3 separate regions of the Homo sapiens genome follow, and regions 1 and 2 are each linked to region 3. Evidence: promoter capture Hi-C in human tissues and cell types (Jung and others, 2019). All regions are on one chromosome and are shown on one strand. Each heading gives the region's core, a stretch centred on a gene start or on the middle of the fragment in contact. The rest is flanking DNA. Distances are from core to core; before and after follow the strand shown.

Evidence for each region. The method cuts DNA at HindIII sites, captures the fragments that hold promoters and counts their contacts. A contact is called where the count stands out against the background at its distance.
Region 1: a contact is called between a fragment that was not itself captured here and the fragment with the promoter of FAS in region 3, in 1 of the 25 tissues and cell types used here (dorsolateral prefrontal cortex).
Region 2: a fragment that was not itself captured here is called in contact with the fragment with the promoter of FAS in region 3 in 1 of the 25 tissues and cell types used here (dorsolateral prefrontal cortex).

Annotation. Positions count from the first base shown.
Region 1 is chr10:87,917,720-87,920,419 of GRCh38, forward strand. All of the region lies in intron 2 of PTEN (phosphatase and tensin homolog), which reads left to right. Among named protein-coding and RNA genes, the nearest start is that of PTEN, 55 kb to the left of the region's middle. The HindIII fragment of the contact is 7,122 bases long and covers 1-2,700 here.
Region 2 is chr10:87,887,452-87,890,151 of GRCh38, forward strand. The region is part of intron 1 of PTEN (phosphatase and tensin homolog); the gene reads left to right. Among named protein-coding and RNA genes, the nearest start is that of PTEN, 25 kb to the left of the region's middle. The HindIII fragment of the contact is 7,093 bases long and covers 1-2,700 here.
Region 3 is chr10:88,989,418-88,992,117 of GRCh38, forward strand. FAS (Fas cell surface death receptor) reads left to right here and starts at 1,381. Exons shown (of 9, transcript NM_000043.6): 1 at 1,381-1,489. The coding sequence starts at 1,460. It overlaps FAS-AS1 (FAS antisense RNA 1), which reads right to left. Exons shown (of 1, transcript NR_028371.1): 1 at 2,005-2,700. It also overlaps a transcript of ACTA2 not described here. RefSeq lists a silencer at 77-126 and enhancers at 534-1,045, 1,046-1,556, 1,697-2,106, 2,237-2,316. The HindIII fragment of the contact is 1,672 bases long and covers 761-2,432 here.

The sequences.
Region 1 (2,700 bases), core at 165-2,664, 1.1 Mb before region 3:
GAAACAATAATAGCATAAAGAACTTGGTGGGTTATCTTTTGTTTTGCATTATTGATTGTTTATTAAGAAATATTCTTTAAAAGTCACCTTGCTTAAATTAGCAAGTAGGAAATGCTTTCAATAAAGAGAACTGTCATGTACCCACTACTCCTTACTTACTGAATCATCTTCTTTTGGATAGAGAAGATAAAAGTGAAAAGGGAATTTAAGAGTTCCTGCCTTTTTCCTTGTCTTTAGCATTATATAGCTGTTTAATGTGTGGGAGTCTAATTTCTTTTTTCTTTCTTGAGACAAAGTCTCACTCTGTTGCCCAGGCTGGAGTGCAGTGGCACAGTCTTGGCTCACTGCAACCTCTGCCTCCCAGGTTCAAGCAATTCTCCTGCCTTAGCCTCCTGAGTAGCTGGGACTACAGGCATGTGCCACCATGCCCGGCTAATTTTTGTATTTTTAGTAGATATGGGACTTCACCATGTTGGCCAGGCTGGTCTTGAACTCCTGACCTCTAGTGATCTGCCTGCTTTGGCCTCCCAAAGTGCTGGGATTACAGGCATGAGCCACTGCACCTGGCCTAATTTTTTTATTGTTCTTTTTGGTGTGAACATTCTCCCCTCCTCCAAGCCTTTTGTTTTTACTATTTTCATGTTCCTTTATATGTGCTGCTGTTTTGTTTCATCTGTAATTATCTCTCATCCCCTTTTTTGGCTATTATAATATATATATGTACGTTTTGAATCTGAGCTTTGAAGGTAAATTCACTGCAGCTGTGTTGGTTGATTTTAGATAATTTGTGTATTTCCTCCTTTGTCTTTTTTAAACTGGAGTCATTTGTAGTTGTTTATACAGAATTTTAGTTTTTAAAACCACAAGTCTTTCATTATAGGTTGAGTTATGAATTCATAGCCTGTTATTTAAATGAAGCTTTTGAAATCTGTTTTACTGATCTGTATCATATCTAACTACGCCAGTATTTCCTTCCTTGTCTGACGTGAACTCTAAAATTATGTGAACACTTTCTCCCTGTTTCCTGGCATTTCCACTCAAACTTGTTCCTCATTCTTAGTTAGAAATATATCCAGAATTGTAGTTTCTTTCTAATCTAATGACAGAAGCAAATTAATCAAGCATGGCAAGAATTTATTGGAAAACTGCATGTAGTTGAAAATATGTTTAGTATATATTTTGACAGCTGTGAAGTCTCTAATTTTTACTGTACCTTTTCTCTGTTCCAATTTTATGCTCTATTCTAAGGATGTACCCATTTCTACTACCTGACTAGGGAGCATGTGTATTGTATCCCAGCAGATTTTTTTTTTCATAGATAGATATCCTTTAGATATCTGTTATCCAGTGTAGGTAGCCACTAGCCACATGTAGCTATCATTATGTTTAAATGTAAATAAAATAAAATAAATTTACTGAGTTGTTTTTGCTAGCTACATTTCTTGTGCTCAGTAGCTACATGTGGCTTGTGATTACTGTATTAAGACAGCACAGATACAGAACATTTTCATTATTGCAAAAGTTCTGTTAGACAGTGCTGTTCTATACAGTGTCATTCTGCCTCTCATTCTAAAAAGTTCTAATTCCTGAAGTTGATGTACTCTTTCTGTTGCTGTCCTCTAGCTTAATCAAAATAAATTTGAGTCTTTTTAAAGGTAGGTTGCATTTTACATACTGATATTTCTAAATCAGAGGCTATTTATATTACTTTTTTTATATTACTTTTAAAAATTAGCTTTATTGGAGTATAATTTACATGCAATAAAATCTACCCATTTTAAATGTACGGTTCATTGACTTTTGAGAAATACACACACACACACACACACACACACACCTTCTTGTAAACACACACCTTCTTGTAAACACAACAACCAAGATTTAGAACACTCGCTTTATGAAAAGTTTCCCTCATGCCCATTTGTAGTCAGTCCCCAAACCTGGTTTCAGGCAATCTCTGATCTGCTTTCTATATGCTTTGCCTATACTAGGATTACATATAAATACAGTCATATAGCATGTATTCCTTTTTGTGTCTGGCTTCTTTCTTTTAGTATAATATTTTTGAAATTTATCCCTGTTGTTACTAGTATCAATAATTTGTTCTTTTTTATTGCTGACTAATATTACATTGTATGGATATGACATTTCTTTATTAGTGTGGTGGGCATTTGAGTTGTTTTCAGTTTGGGTCTGTTATGAACAAAGCTGCTGTAAGCATTCATGTGCAAGACTTTTGTGGACATATATTTTTGTTTCTGTTTATTCAATACCTTTGAGTAGAATTGTTGGGTCACATGATGTAGATCAGTTGAACAGAGTAGATTCCAGAAAAGTTCACATACACATTTCTTGACAAAGGTGCTGAGATTATTCATGGGAAAAGGATAATCTTTTAAACAAATAATACTGGAACAATAGAGAAAACAAAGTGAACCTTGACTTTTATGTCTTATCATATACAAAAATTAATTTGAAGTGGATTGTTGACCTAAATGTAAAAGTAAAATTTAAAAATATAAAACTTCTAGATGAAAACATAGGAGAAAATCTCTGTGACTTTTGGTTTAAAGATTTCTTAGACAGTACATATAAAATTAACTATATAAGGAAAAAATGGACAAATTTGACTTTATCAACATTAAAAATTTCTGCTCATTGAAAGACTCAAAATGAAAAGGCAAGCAGTTTTGGAGAAAA
Region 2 (2,700 bases), core at 60-2,559, 1.1 Mb before region 3:
GAATGACTTGAAGACAGAATTTATAATTAAAAGAGAGGCAGAATGGAAATACTTGGAAAATTTGCAGCCTGGCCATAGTAAAGAATGCAAAAGGTATGTTTAGGAGAGCAAACCAAGGGTGTGGTCCAGGAACCATTTGCTGAAGAGATTAATATTCCTAGAGGAGACCCAAGGGCTATTTATCAAGACAGTGGAAAAAGACCCCAGAGGCATTTTGGAGATCTTTGAGGCTGCCTGCCCCATCACAGGCCCAGAGCTCTAGGAGGGCAGAATGGTTTGTGGCTCAGGTGGTCCTTCACAAGCTTGCTGCCCAGGGCTACCTCAGCTCCCCATATTTCAACCCAGTGGGCCTTGGCTGTCCTAGGTCTGGTTCAGAGGGGCCCAGGTGTGGCTTAGGCTACTGCTGAGTACTCAAATGGTAAACCTTGGCAGCGTCTATATGGTGCTAATTCTGCAGGCTCACAGGATGAAAGAGCTGTGGGAGACATGGCTACCACCACCAGGATTTCAAAGGATGATGGGGATAGTCTGGGAGAGACTTGCCACAGGCTTGGAGCCTCTGAAGGGTGGAAATGTGGGTTGGAGTCACTACAGAGAGTCCCTACTAGGGCATTGCATAATGGAGCCATGGCAGCAGGCCCACCACCAAAGCTTCAGAACTGTAGAGCTACAAGTATACAGTGCCAGCCTGGGAGAACTTCAGGCTTGAGACCCTAACCTGTGAAAGCTGCATGGGCTAAGTACAGCAAAGCCATGGAGGTGGGGCTTCCCAGGGTCTATTGGGATGAAACGAATGTATTTTGTAGGTGAGAAGGACATGAGTTTTGAGGCCCAGGGGCAGAATGCTATGGTTTGGTTGTTTCCTTCAAAACTCATGTTGAAACTTCATTGCCATGTGGCATTATTATGAGGTGGAACCTTTCAGAAGTGGTTACATTATAAGGGCTTTGCCTTCATTAATGGATTAATGCCATTATTGCAGGTGTGGGTTAGTTATCTCTGGAGTTTGGCCCCCTTTTTCTCTATCATGTGCTCATGCCCTCTTTTGCCATGTGATGCCTTCTACCATGTTATGATGCATCCAGAAGACTCTCACCACATGCAGCCCCTTGATCTTAGACTTCTCAGCTTCTAGAACTGTGAGTGAAATAAACTTCTTTTCTTTATAAATTACCCCGTCTGTGGTATTGTATAGCAGCAGAAAATAGACATCAGCCTGAAGTTCCCCCAGGCTGGCATTAAATACTAATTATTAATTAGTATTTATAGTGCAAGGATAAATTCAAGTTTAGCCCTGGTTAGAATGACCACATTTCAAGGGAGGGGCTTTGTACTTCTGTGCATATCTGTAAGGATAAAAATCTTAATACTATTCTCACTGAAATTAATGGTTTAGGTTAGGTAAGGTTGTTAGTGCTAATAATTATTTCTTTTAATAAAATATTCTTAGTTGCGTTGTTCAAAAAACATAGATGATTTGAATTTATATTTTTTGGCCAAAATATATTTATAATTTTGAGTAGGAATTCCAGAGTATTGGTAGCTATAACCACTTTGGGTTCCCTGCCATTGCTTCTGGTGCCTCATTTTTTCTGACGTCTTCCATTTTCTTACATTTGTCTTCTAAGGTGGAGTTAAGATTACTCAGTTAAGATTATTTCACTTTAGGCCTCTGCTGTCTTCTGCTTTTTTTTTTAAAATGAATGGATATAATATCCCAATACATTTTGATAATTGAACAACAGCTACATTTTTAAGTGAGGCTACTTTCTTCTAATTTTTTAAATTTATTTTTCTCAGTTTTTAAAAAAAATGTCAGATTGGCTAAGAGTTGGGGCAGCTTTCTTATGTGAGAGTAGTAGATGACAGCAAATATTTGTGATGTTAAAATGATAATCCTAATAGTTTTCTTTTAGAATCTTTATAATAAAAACCCTTTGAGGCTGAGGGTGAATTTGTATGTTCCTAAAGTGACAAAAAATGTTCTTGGGGCATAGTAATTTAAATCTTAGATGCTTTTATTAGTATAATTTTTTGGTAGAAATTTGGCATTAAAAAATGCATACAGAGCTTTTTCTACATACAGGGCAAGACAGCATTTTGTCATGGCAATTAGTAAATAGATAATTATAAAACATCTAATTTTAAGCAATTTGTTACAGAAACGATACAGGTACATTGTGGCAAAAATAGAAGATACAAAACAAGCAAATATGAGAAAAAATATACATGCCACCACCTATATATGACTTTTAGTACTTTATAATCTTTTGTCTATATATGTCTATATGGATATATACGTATTCTTTTTATCCAAATGGTATTACATTGTACATTCTGTTTTGAAACCTGCCTTTTTTAGTCATTTACATCTACTTTTCCATCTCAGTAACTTTTCATCTTGTGTAATGCCCGGATCACATTAAAATGTTTCCAATTAGCTCAAAAATGTCCTTTATGGCTGGTTTGGCTAAAACAGTATCCAGGCCAGCATTGCACCTATGAAATTGGCTGTTAGGAATCTTGTATCTTTAAAAATCAAGGGCAGCAACCCATCCTCCCGCTTCCCCCACCTCCCACCACCCCCCCACCTTTTTTTTTTCTTAAAGATACTGGCTTGTTGAAGAGAGAATGGGTCATGTCCTACAAACTGTCTGAATTTGTCCAGTTTGCTGTCTCATAGTGTCATTTAGCTTGTTT
Region 3 (2,700 bases), core at 131-2,630:
AGAATGCCCATATACCATCCTCCTTATCCCACTTCTTTTTGTGTCTATTAGATGCTCAGAGTGTGTGCACAAGGCTGGCACGCCCAGGGTCTTCCTCATGGCACTAACAGTCTACTGAAAGGTGGAACAGAGACAAGCCTATCAACACCTACAAGACTGGTGGTAAGTGCAGTGACAGATGCAAAACACAGGGTGATGGAAAGCCCTCAGGAGGGTAACCTAACCTAGATTTGAGGGCCCAAACAGGCTCCAGAAGAAAATGTCAACTGAGAGGAAGCCTGAAGGATGAACAGTGGGCTAAGCAAAGGGTTATTAATGTGTTATTAATGGGTTGAATCTAATTGGGAAGGGAGAGAGGTTGCAGAGTGAGGTGCAGAGCTTGGTGGACGATGCCAAAGGAATACTGAAACCTTTAGTGTGTCCAGTCTGGAACTGCATCCAAATTCAGGTTCAGTAATGATGTCATTATCCAAACATACCTTCTGTAAAATTCATGCTAAACTACCTAAGAGCTATCTACCGTTCCAAAGCAATAGTGACTTTGAACAGTGTTCACCAGAGCACGAAAGAATTACAAGATTTTTTTTTAAAGAAAATTGGCCAGGAAATAATGAGTAACGAAGGACAGGAAGTAATTGTGAATGTTTAATATAGCTGGGGCTATGCGATTTGGCTTAAGTTGTTAGCTTTGTTTTCCTCTTGAGAAATAAAAACTAAGGGGCCCTCCCTTTTCAGAGCCCTATGGCGCAACATCTGTACTTTTTCATATGGTTAACTGTCCATTCCAGAAACGTCTGTGAGCCTCTCATGTTGCAGCCACAACATGGACAGCCCAGTCAAATGCCCCGCAAGTCTTTCTCTGAGTGACTCCAGCAATTAGCCAAGGCTCCTGTACCCAGGCAGGACCTCTGCGCTCTGAGCTCCATTCTCCTTCAAGACCTCCCCAACTTCCCAGGTTGAACTACAGCAGAAGCCTTTAGAAAGGGCAGGAGGCCGGCTCTCGAGGTCCTCACCTGAAGTGAGCATGCCAGCCACTGCAGGAACGCCCCGGGACAGGAATGCCCATTTGTGCAACGAACCCTGACTCCTTCCTCACCCTGACTTCTCCCCCTCCCTACCCGCGCGCAGGCCAAGTTGCTGAATCAATGGAGCCCTCCCCAACCCGGGCGTTCCCCAGCGAGGCTTCCTTCCCATCCTCCTGACCACCGGGGCTTTTCGTGAGCTCGTCTCTGATCTCGCGCAAGAGTGACACACAGGTGTTCAAAGACGCTTCTGGGGAGTGAGGGAAGCGGTTTACGAGTGACTTGGCTGGAGCCTCAGGGGCGGGCACTGGCACGGAACACACCCTGAGGCCAGCCCTGGCTGCCCAGGCGGAGCTGCCTCTTCTCCCGCGGGTTGGTGGACCCGCTCAGTACGGAGTTGGGGAAGCTCTTTCACTTCGGAGGATTGCTCAACAACCATGCTGGGCATCTGGACCCTCCTACCTCTGGTGAGCCCTCTCCTGCCCGGGTGGAGGCTTACCCCGTCTTAGTCCCGGGGATAGGCAAAGTGGGGCGGGCGCGGGACGCGTGCGGGATTGCGGCGGCAGCGGCGCACGCGGGCACCTGGGAGCGGCGGGCTGCTGCGGGAGGCGTTGGAGACTGGCTCCCGGGGGCTGTTAGGACCTTCCCTCAGGCCCGGGTGCTCAGAACGCTGGAGGACTTGCTTTTCTTGGGCCTTGATGCGAAGTGCTGACCCCGCTGGGCAGGCGGGGCAGCTCCGGCGCTCCTCGGAGACCACTGCGCTCCACGTTGAGGTGGGCGTGGGGTGCGGACAGGAATTGAAGCGGAAGTCTGGGAAGCTTTAGGGTCGCTGGAGGGGGACCCCGGTTGGAGAGAGGAGCGGAACTCCTGGACAAGCCCTGACAAGCCAAGCCAAAGGTCCGCTCCGGCGCGGGTGGGTGAGTGCGCGCCGCCCCGCGGGGGCGGGGAGAGAGCCTGCAGCCTTCAGAACAGATATTGCTCATTTTCTGGCAGTTCTCAGACGTAGGAAATAAGTCAGCACCGAAGCAGTGGTTAAGCCGGAGGGCTCGGAAGAACGGCACCTTTTCTTTCTCGAAAAAGTTATATGGGGGCTGAATGAGCTTCTGGAGGCTTGTTTACCGTTTTTTATTGTCACACAGAAAAAGAAACTGCCTTGTCTCCCTTCCGGGAATTCTCTCTTTAAGACTGTAAGTCGCTGCCTGAGTGGTTTCATTTTGTTTTGTTTTTCTGCCCTTCTCTTTCTTCTTTTGCCCTTTCTTAGCTTGCACTCCCATGGTGATTTCTGCTTGGTCTCCTGCTGGGGTTGGTGGTACTCGTTCCCACCGCACAGAACCCGGCGCCTATTATTGGCCAAGAAACTTGAGCAGCCTGTTTTGAAAAGTCCCTCGCTCAGAAATGCCAGCTTGCAGATGGCTAATCAAAGAGACGTGGATCCAGGAGGCTCATTTGAGTACCGGAGCCTCTGAGAGTCCATGGATTTTTATTTTATTGGGCCCCAACAAAGTGCCAGGCATAGCGAGAGAAGTGTTTACAAATGTGATCTCCGCGGATTCTCACGAGAGCCATGTAGTGGGGAAGATAACCACATCCCCATTTTACAGATGGCGAAATGAGGTTCAGAGAGCTTCAGTAATTCAGCCAAGATCACACAGCTAGTAAATGGGAGATATGGGATTGA